Linked DNA regions of Homo sapiens: region 2 is linked to region 1. Evidence: promoter capture Hi-C in human tissues and cell types (Jung and others, 2019). All regions are on one chromosome and are shown on one strand. The core of a region is centred on a gene start or on the middle of the fragment in contact, and the rest is flanking DNA. Distances in the headings are between cores, read along the strand shown. Region 1 holds the start of PDHB (pyruvate dehydrogenase E1 subunit beta). Region 2 overlaps FAM3D (FAM3 metabolism regulating signaling molecule D).

Evidence for each region. Contacts are between HindIII fragments. The study calls those that stand out against the background at their distance.
Region 2: a fragment that was not itself captured here is called in contact with the fragment with the promoter of PDHB in region 1 in 1 of the 25 tissues and cell types used here (IMR-90 fibroblasts).

What each region holds. Positions count from the first base shown.
Region 1 is chr3:58,431,255-58,436,236 of GRCh38, forward strand. It overlaps PDHB (pyruvate dehydrogenase E1 subunit beta), which reads right to left and starts at 2,578. Exons shown (of 10, transcript NM_000925.4): 1 at 2,514-2,578; 2 at 2,377-2,430; 3 at 623-730; 4 at 477-539; 5 at 339-374. The coding sequence starts at 2,555. LOC107986092 (a long non-coding RNA gene) reads left to right here and starts at 2,341. Exons shown (of 4, transcript XR_007095933.1): 1 at 2,341-2,988. RefSeq lists enhancers at 2,334-2,553, 3,596-4,205 and a silencer at 2,614-2,853. The HindIII fragment of the contact is 10,584 bases long and covers 1-4,982 here.
Region 2 is chr3:58,635,413-58,640,544 of GRCh38, forward strand. It overlaps FAM3D (FAM3 metabolism regulating signaling molecule D), which reads right to left. Exons shown (of 10, transcript NM_138805.3): 7 at 4,715-4,765; 8 at 1,729-1,813; 9 at 882-1,008. Among named protein-coding and RNA genes, the nearest start is that of FAM3D, 29 kb to the right of the region's middle. RefSeq lists an enhancer at 5,019-5,132. The HindIII fragment of the contact is 6,650 bases long and covers 1-5,085 here.

The DNA.
Region 1 (4,982 bases), core at 1,328-3,827:
AAATCTCTTTGGGGATGGGCACAGTGGCTCACGCCTGTAATCCCAGCACTTTGGGAGGCCAAGGCGGTCGGATCACTTGAGGCCAGGAGTTCAAGACCAGCCTGGCCAACATGGTAAAACCCCATCTCTACTAAAAACACAAAAATTGGCTAGGCACAGTGGCGCGACCTGTAACCCCAGCCACTATGGAGGCTGAGGCAGGAGAATTGCTTGAACCTGGAAGCTGAGATGGTGCCAGTGCACTCCAGGCTGGACAACAGAGTGAGACTCTGTCTCAAAAGAAAAAAAAAGAAAACAAGAAATGTCTTTGGATAAGTTTCATAAAGAGTATTACATACCATAGCTGCACCTACAGCAATTCCAGCAAAGCCCATCTATAAAGTAAAATATAAACATAAGTGAAAATCCATAAAAATGAGGATAATGGACACTAACAGACATGCCCTCCAGGGTCTGCTTCCCACTGGAAGGCTTACCTCTGATATGGGAGTGTCAATAATCCTCTTGTCTCCATATTTCTTCCACAGCCCTCGACTAACCTACAATTAAGAGTTGATCCCTTAAGTGTATCTGGGGGTAACAGTGACCTCAATTTTGTATAACTTTCATATATTTTAGTTACCTTGTATGCCCCATCATACTGGGCAACTTCTTCTCCAAGCAGAAATACCTTCTCATCTCTTTCCAGCTCCTCATCCATACCCTGATTTATAGCATCACGAACTGTCACCTGTCACAGGTATGCAAAAACAGTCAATACAGAATTGTTTGGGATTCAACTAAGATTTTCTTCCTTTATATTTACCTAGGCTGCCCACAGCATACAATATAAAAACACTAGAACAAGCTTCTCTCTAAAAACTCAAAGAATTCTAAAAGTAACATTTCTATTACACATAGTTGGTCTTTGCATGTGTTAATGTACTGAGTGCTCACTAGGTGCCAAGTACTGCCAAATACTTTGCATCCAGAATGTAGGAGTTGCTCTTTTAATATAATGAATGGTAAAATCTAGTTAAAAAAAGGAAGGAGAGGAGAATTAACATACAATCCATCAATTCCACTTCTATGTATATGCCCCAAATAATTGAAAGCAGGGATTCAAGCATATACTTGCACATCAATGTTCACAGCAGCATTACTCACAATAGACAAAACAAGGCCAGGCACGGTGGCTCACACCTGTAATTCCAGCACTCTGGGAGGCCAAGGCAGGTGGATCACTTGAGGTCAGGAGTTCGAGACCACCCTGGCCAACATGGTGAAACCCATTCTCTACTAAAAATACAAAAATTGGCCGGGTGTGGTGGCGGGTGCCTGTAATCCCAGCTACTCGGGAGGCTGAGGCAGAATTGCTTGAACCCAGGAGGCAGAGATTGCAGTGAGCTGAGATAGTGCCACTGCACTCTAGCCTGGGCAGCAAGAGCAAAACTCCGTCTCAAAAAAAAAAAAGAAAATGTCGGGCTGAGCGAGGTGGCTCATGCCTGTAATCCTAGCACTTTGGGAGGCCAAGGCAGGCAGATCACTTGAGGCCAGGAGTTCAAGACCAGCCTGGGCAATATGGTGAGACCCTGTCTGTACTAAAAATACAAAAATTAGCCCGGTGTGGTGGCACCGGCATCTAATCACAGCTACTCAGGAGTGTGAGGCGCGAGAATCCCTTGAGCCCAGGAGGTGGAGGTTGCAGTGAGCTGAGATCGCGCCACTGCACTCCAACCTGGGTGACAGAGGGAGACTATCTCAAAAAAATATACATATATATATTATTCAGCCTTAGGAAAGAATCAAACTCTGACGCATGCTACAACATGGATGAACCTTGAGGACATTACGCTGAGATAAGCCAGACACAAAAGGACAAATGATGCCACTTATAAGAAGTTCTAGAATAGGCAACCTCATAAAGACAGAAAAGTACAACAGGGGTTACCAGGGGTTTGGGGAAGGGAAATGAGGAGTTACCGAGTAATGGACAGTTTCTGCTTGGGATGATTAAAAAGTTCTGGAAATGGATGGTGGTTAATGGTTGTACAACATGGTGAATGTACTTAATGCCACTGAATTATACACTTCTAAAAAGTACATTTTAAGTTAGGTCTATTTTGCTGCAATTTAAAGAAAAAAACATGGAGTGAGGGAGGAAACGCCTAGTCTTAGTTTTCCCCCATTGCCCAGCCAGCTGTGAGGTGGTGACTCGCCGGTGTGCTAATTGCCAGGCGGCGACAGAGGCAGCAGGAGCTCCACGGAGGATGCTGGCTCCGCAAACCCAAGGCCCACGGCGCCGGAAGGCCACAGCGCAGGCGCGACTCCGGCCTCCTTCCCGAGAGAAGGGGGGACCCTCCCCGCCCTCGTCCGACGAGCACCCGCGCCTGTTACCTGCAGCGCAGCCGGCGCGGTCCAGTGAAAGCGCCTCTTCAGCAGCCCGGAGACCTGGCAGGGAGAGAGGAAGATGACGGCGGGACGCAGGGTGGGCAGGGGTCGCGTGGGAATACAGGCCGCGCGCTGCTGCCTACCTCCCGAAGGGGTCTCCGCACCAAGCCAGACACCGCCGCCATCTTGGTCGTGTCCTCTATCCGCTGCCAAACGACAACAGAGGGGCCGGCAGACGTGAGCAGGCCCCGCCTCCACCGGCGCGGGCCAATGGCAAGGCGCGCCGGCTGCGTGACCCGCCCACCCGCCCACCGGGTGAGGGGCCGCGGGGCCGGGCTGAGGTGGCGTGTGGGTGGCCGTGCCCCTCTGCCTGGAGCCGCCTCAAATCAACTTTATTGACAGTAGGCGGTGACCGACAGGCGGGGTGCACGCTGGGCACACGTGCCTGGTCGGTGTTACTTGAAGCGTGGGGACTAGAAGTCAGACCCTGAGGAGCATGATCTCTGGAAGCTGGAGAGACCTTAAGAGTTAGGCCAACCTGTTGTGGGTGCTGGAATCCTTTGGGCACCAAGAAGTGCTTGCACACGCTCTACTGATGGGGAACTTAACACTTCATGAGTGAGTCTAGTCTTCCCTGGACAGTGCTGTCTGTTGATTCCTTATAATGCACATCATAGCTTTCATTGATTGCATTAAGCACCTACTGTGAGCCAAGCATTGAGATATGTGCTGTATAGCTCATTCTCACAGTACCCCACTTGGGTAATTAGTGTTATTATTATCTCCATTTTGAAGACGGTTAAACTGAAGCAGAAATTGATTAAATGAGCCGATATTTTAATTTAGGACTGTCTTGACTCTAAAGCATGGTCTTTTTCCCACTGCTTCCTAAAGCAGAAGTGGATTCCTGCTTGGGGGAAGGTTACAACAACTTTAGAGAAGGGCGGCCCTATGGATGTAGCAGGACAAGCCGCAGACGAAACTCCTCAGACACCGAGTTAAAGAAGGAAGGGGTTTATTCGGCCAGGGGCATGGGCAAGACTCTTGTCTCAAGAGCCGAGCTCCCTGAATGGGCAATTCCTGTCCCTTTTAAGGGCTCACAGCTCTAAGGAGGTGTGCGTGAGAGGGTCATGATTGATTGAGCAAGCAGGGGGTATGTGACTAGGGGCTGCAAGCACCGGTAATTAGACTGGAACAGGATAGGGATTTTCACAGTGCTTTTCTATACAATGTCTGTAATCTATAGTTAACATAACCGATTAGGTCGGGGTCGATCTTTACCAGGCCCAGGGTGTGGCACCAGGCTGTCTGTTTGTGGATTTCATTTCTGCCTTTTAGTTTTTACTTTTTCTTTCTTTGGAGGCAGAAATTGGGCATAAGACAATATGAGGGGTGGTCTCCTCCCTTATGGGGAGGTGCCAAACACTTGGCCATAGGGACAACCTCTGGAAGCTCATTAGTCTTAATTTGGCCCTTGGGGGTCAGATGGGACAATTGAGCACCCAGTCTCCACCCATCCCCAAGACATTCCAAACATTCCCTTCTATGGATCACAGCTGCAGGCTGCCAAATTAGGAATTTGCAACTTCCAGTAGGTTGCTGACTGGGAATGGGAGGGGGTGGAGGCAAAGGCAGAACAGGCGGATGCTGGGAAGTCTGTGGCAGCAACAGAGGCAGACTAGGAGGCAACTTCCAGATGGAGAGGAGGGGGACAGTTTTGAGATCTATTTGGGCTAGAATCAATAGGAATGCTGTAAGTGCTAGGGAAGAGCAGAGGAAAATTTTGGATTTTTGTCATTGCTGGATGGATAGATGGGGTAAGGGAGGAGCCTGGGGCAGTGTAAGTGCCAGGAGCTGGGGAAGTAAGAGTGTATTTTTGTTTATTTTTTGAGATGGAGTTTCACTCTGTCACCCAGGCTGAAGTGCAGTGGGCCTCACTGCAACCTCTGCCTCCCAGGTTCAAGCTATTCCCCTGCTTCAGCCTCCCGAGTAGCTGGGATTACAGGCACCTGCCACCATGCCCGGCTAATTTTTTTTATTTTTAGTAGAGATGAGTTTTCACTATGTTGACCAGGCTGATGTTGAACTCTTGACCTCAAGTGATCCACCCGCCTCAGCCTCCCAAAGTGCTGGGATTACAGGCATGAGCCACTGCAGCCAGCCTTTATTCTTTAGATGACTGGGACATACCCAGGTTGCCTGGAGCCTAGGGCCTAGTCAGGGCTAAAGGTAGAAATTTGGGGACAGCTGCATAGAGATGACATTTACTCTCTGGGACTGTTTCATCTGTAAAATGGATAGAAGATCTTCAAGATATGGAATCAACACCTTCTGAGTCTCCCTCACCTGCCACCATCGTCTAGTCCCAACTGTCCCTGCCAGGGCCTCAGGAATGGCCAGCACTTCCTAGACTGCCACAGCATCCCTGAGAAACTCCTGAACTTGAGATTTCAGCCCCCAAAAGTTTGTGGGTGGTGCTCAGAATGAAAAAGTGAATCAGTCCTTCCCACCTTTCCCACAACCTAGCACCAAAAGATTTCAGGATCAGATTTGCCAAGCAAAAGGAGATGTTACAGGAAAGCAGTCCCGATCGAGATCCCAAGAGAGAGTTC
Region 2 (5,132 bases), core at 511-3,010, 200 kb after region 1:
TGGTTCATTTTTGTGTGTCGGTCCCGGCCAGCTGGTTGCAGATGGATGAAGATGATGCTGGGCTTCCTGTACTCCCACGCCTCCTCTGTCTTGCCGGTTCCCCTGGGTCTGGAGCCCACGCTTTGGGGCAGGAAAGCACCACCTGCCCATGCAGCCTCAGACCTCTTGCCTCTTGCTAGGGCCCTGCTGCAGCACCCCCACAGGACATTCGGGAACCACACCCGGCCGCCCCCGCCCACCGGCCTCCTGCGTTCTTCACTGCGTTCAAGTAATTTCTAGTTACCCAAATACATCCTCTTAGAAACACACGCATACAGACCAAGACCACATTTTCTAGCTTAGGAAAGAAATCCTCCCATCCCAGTCCTGGTGCCCTTCCTAGAGCTCAGCACACGGTTCCCTGCACCTGCCCCCTCCAGCACCTCTTGTCTGATGATGGCATCGGCCTCCTCCCTGCCTTCTGACTTCCCTCCTCGTTTTCTCCATGCCTCGCCAGGGAGGCTGAAGGGATGGGGACAGGCATCCTGCTCCTTTCCCCGGGATCCCCTTCCCCGCCACACAGCTCCATGTCTCCATTTCTTTCTCGTTCCTTCATGCCTCACTTGCCCATCATCCTTCTTTTCTCCTTTTCCCTCTTCCTTTTCTGATAATTATCTGTATACCTGCGTATCTATATATGACCCAGCTTTTGCGAAATGGCCAAGGCAGCTTCCTGGCCAATCAGACCACCCTGGCCTTTGGAGTGAATGACAGCCAGGGGCCTCTCCCCAGACAATCCTCCCAATTTTAAGGCCCCTGGGAGGTGAATGGGTGACTCCTTCCTACCACCACCCAGCTCCTCATGCATCCTTCATAGGGCCGGGTTGTGGCCCAGAACCCACCTGCTCAAAGGGGCTTTTACCCCTGAGGTCTTTGGCTCCTATGAAGACCCAGCTGTCCCGGAAGCCCAGTTGTTTTGCGTAGGAACTCCCCAAGTCAGAGAAGAGTTTCCTGCTTTCATCGTTCATTCTGCAGAGGACCAGAGAGGATGGTCAGGATGCGGGGGTGGGTCGCAGGGGCATCAGGTGGTGGGATTCCCATGGGGCAAGGTTCCCACTCTTCTCCCCATTCAGCATCTGCCCTGGGGGTGTCCAGAGAACGTGGCTGCACTCAGGAAGGACAGGGTAAAGGGCTTCAAGACTTCCTCTCTAAAAGGGCTTCAGATGGGGCTGGAGATGTGTTAAAACAGTACTGCTCTATTTACAAATACAATACACATTCATTTGGAAAATATGGAAGATCACAAAGAAGTAACTAAGAAATACAGTCTCACCCCTCCTCCCCTTAGTGTGATCAGTGTATGTATTTCCATACAGTGTTTTTTTTTCCCCTCACTTAGCACTAGAGGGTGAGCGATTTTCCACGTCCTTAAATACTTTCCGCACCATCATTTTTGATGCAGTCTATCTTCATTTGTGTATATATCATATCCTATGTCACCGTATGTCATAGTTTCTGTAGCCAGTCAGCTGTTATTATTGGACAGGGAGAGGGTTTCCAGTTTTTCACTGTGGTAATGAAGGCTGTGATGAACCTCCTAGAACATTTCTTTGCATACTTGTCTGATAATTTCCTCGAGATAAGTTGCCAGAAAATGGATCTGGCAAAAGAGCAGAAAAGGGTGTGCAGGGTTTGAAGGTATTCAGTTTGCATCACTGTGTGGCCTGGCAGGTAGAGTTTTCTACTTACTTGGTCCCTGGATCGTCGTAGGAGGCCACCAGCACCAGTGCACCCCCCGGAATTTCTTTAAGGAATTTCACTAGGTGCATAACATCTGGGGGAGGAAGGAAAAGGTGCTGGTGATTTAGGGGAAATGAGCCCTGGTCATTCTCATGCTTGTCTACTGCCCCATGATGCAGGAGTCAGCTAGGCCCGGTGGACACTGGGCTGAGCTCAGAAGCCAGGAGGAAGAGCATCCCAGGTGGAGCTCCCTGTAGCCCTTGTCCTAGGGGAGGGCAGAGTGACCAGAGTGAGGGGAACTCATCCAGGTGATGTGGGGTGGCTTCTGGACACTGGAATTTAGAAATTCCCCTCGTGACAGGGATTTGCAGCTGAGGGTGACCACCACTGGTAGAAGGGCCCTTGTGTGCCTACCCCTCTGGGGACGAAGTGCCATCATCTCTCAGGTGCTCTGGGCCCTTTGCATACCCCAGACCCCATTCTACGCTGGACAATGCCCAGATTATCTGTGCTGACTTTAGGTGGTATAGCACGTGGCCTCAGACAACTGAGATCCCTGGGAGAGAATTCGAGTAGACTATGAATACAACTCTCCTGCTGTGTCAAGGAGCAAGGCTCTGCGTGTGTCTTTAATGCCTCCCTAACTTGCCAAGCTCTCTATTTAACAGAGAACAGCTCTAGGTTTAGCACCTGGGGGAGGCATCAGCATCCAGCTCACTGTGAAGAGGCTGATTTGTTTCCCTTGTGATTATTATTATTATTATTATTCTGACACAGAGTTTCTCTCTCGTTGCCCAGGCTGGAGTGCAATGGCGCGATCTGCGCTCATTGCAACCTCCACCTCCTGGGTTCAAGCGATTCTCCTGCCTCAGCCTTCCAAGTAGCTGGAATTACAGGCATGCGCCGCCATGCCTGGCTAATTTTGTGTTTTTAGTAGAATTGGAGTTTCTCCATGTTGGTCAGGCTGGTCTCGAACTCCCAACCTCAGGTGATCTGCCTGTCTCGACCTCCCAAAGTGCTGGGATTACAGGCATAAGCCACTGTCCCAGGGCCCTCCATTGTGATTATTTTTATGGTCACCTTCCCTGCATAACAAGTGATAATAGCTTTCCATTTAAGGCAGTAATATAGTTTCCTTTTAAGATATATTTACTTAGGTAAGAAAAAAAGTGATCCAATTTAAAGAAAAATACTAATAATGCAGATATTATTCTAGATATGGTGCAACTCGAGTGGGCTCAAGTTTGGGAACAAGCAGCCTAGTGGCTAAAGCAGAGACTATATCTGTCAAATGAGGATGAGTAACAGCCCTGCTTATAACCTCTATGAAGTGCAAATGTGACAATAACTTTGGGCATACAGTAAGCGTACTCTAATGGAACCAAAAATTATTAGCAGGATTGGCAGCATAATTTTCAGGACCCAGTGCAGAATGAAAATGCAGGGCCTTTTAATAAAAAATGATTAAGTATTTCAAGACCACGATGGCAGAGCATGAAGTCAAGTGTGAGATTCTTCCAAGCATGGGCCCCGTGTGACTGCCCTGTCCCCAGGTCATAGGCCCACAAAGCTGGCCTTGATTATTAGTATTCCAGTGCGGACCTCTAGGACCTTGGGGAAGAAGCCATTCTCCCAACTAAGGCCAGCTGCCAGCCAGCTCAGTGACAGAGGTTTCCGGTCAACCACCACAGTCACTCTTCTAAAGAAATGGCCCTTGAACTTTTATGACAAAAGGAGGGAGCTCTTAAAGCACCATTAATTTGTGTTGTTAGCAGATATTACGGTCTGGTGCTTGTCTGGATGGACGGTGGGTATTTGAAAAAATAAAACATGCCTTCTGCTAATGATCACCTCACTTTAAAAAGCCATCATCCCCTTTTGTTTCCTGAAGGGAAGGACTACTTGCTCACAATGCTTCTGTTTCTGGGTCCCCATCAGCCGTGGCTACATTCAAGTTTATCATAAGGCATTTTAAAGCTTAGTTTCATCTTTACGCTTTTTTTCCTTTTCATTCTGACAGATGATTTCCTTGCTTCTGAGTCATCTGGACGGAATGAGGGAAGAGGGGAGCGAAGGGGAAGAGGAGGGAAGGGAGAAGACTAACATAGCTTGCCTGGACCCCTCCACCAGTCAGGCTGGATACCCTTCCACCAATTATTTCAGGTTATCTAATCTTCACATCAATTTTATGGAGTGGAAACTATAGCTGCCTCTATGTCACAGATGAAGAAACTGAGGCTCAAGAGGCATCACTTGCTTCAGGTCATGCCGCCAGTAGTCTCTGACACCGGAGACTGGACGTTTTCCATAAACCTGGCCCCAGGCCACGCTGAACATCAGTAGGACTCCAGGCAGAATGTCTGGTCCTCAGCCCCTGGCCTGTCCCCATCTCCTGTTGCCCCTGTCCTCAGCTCTATCCTGTACCAGGAGGAGGGACCTTGCACACCGCATGTGGGCACTTCAGTGGGCCCATCCAGGCTCCATCCACAGCACCCTCCCATCAAGCAACAGCCAGCCCCTGGTCACCCCTCCATCCTGGGGGAGTGTCAGAAGCCTGGGGGTGGGGCACACCTGGTAAGAGACCTGCGTGGGCCCTGATGCAGACTCCAGGTCAGCACACTCCTAGCTCTGCGGACTGCTCACCCATGAGTTGGGATGGAGATGGAGGAGGGCCGGGTGGGGTCTTATGAAGCCCTGGGCTGAGGACAGGGTTCCAGCTGCCCATCTGACGTTTCCTGAGCTCACTTCTTAAATAAAGCATTGCACTTGAATCCCTGTCTCAGGATCTGAGTCTGGGAGATCCCAACTGAGATGGCCAGAAGGAGTTTCGAAAGCAGCAGGACACCCTCAACCCCCCACCGCACCTCTTCCTGGGTGCCTCCTGTGGAAAGAAGCACCAGGTACCTCGAGCCACCAGGTCCCTTGCCACATGAAGAGGCTCAGCCCTCTGCACCGCACCCCCGACTGTGACTTCAGTGTCAGCAGAGGCACCTACCTCCAGAGTACATGTCAAATGCCTTCTGTCCCAGCACAGCTCCCGTGGTTCCTAGGGGTTAAGAGGAGAACGATTATCCCCTGTAACACGTGTCATTCTGCCTGTCGTTCTGCTGAAAATGCCTAATCTGTAGTCTAAGATCTAAAAACAGAATAAGAATCTAATGAAATCAGGTCCTATAAAGAGCACGCAGGACTAAAGTAGGTTTCCAGGAATGGCTGGGCTCATCTGAGAGGTTCAAGAACGTAATGGCTGAGGACATCTCTGGAATCGAACTGAGTCTACTCAGTCTGAGTCGGTGTTCTGTCCTACCAGTTTCTAACGCAGGACTTAGCATTTTGACCTCAATTTTTGCATCTGTACAATGGGTTGTGGGAACTAAAGGAGATACATTTAAAATATTAATAGTAGTCATACA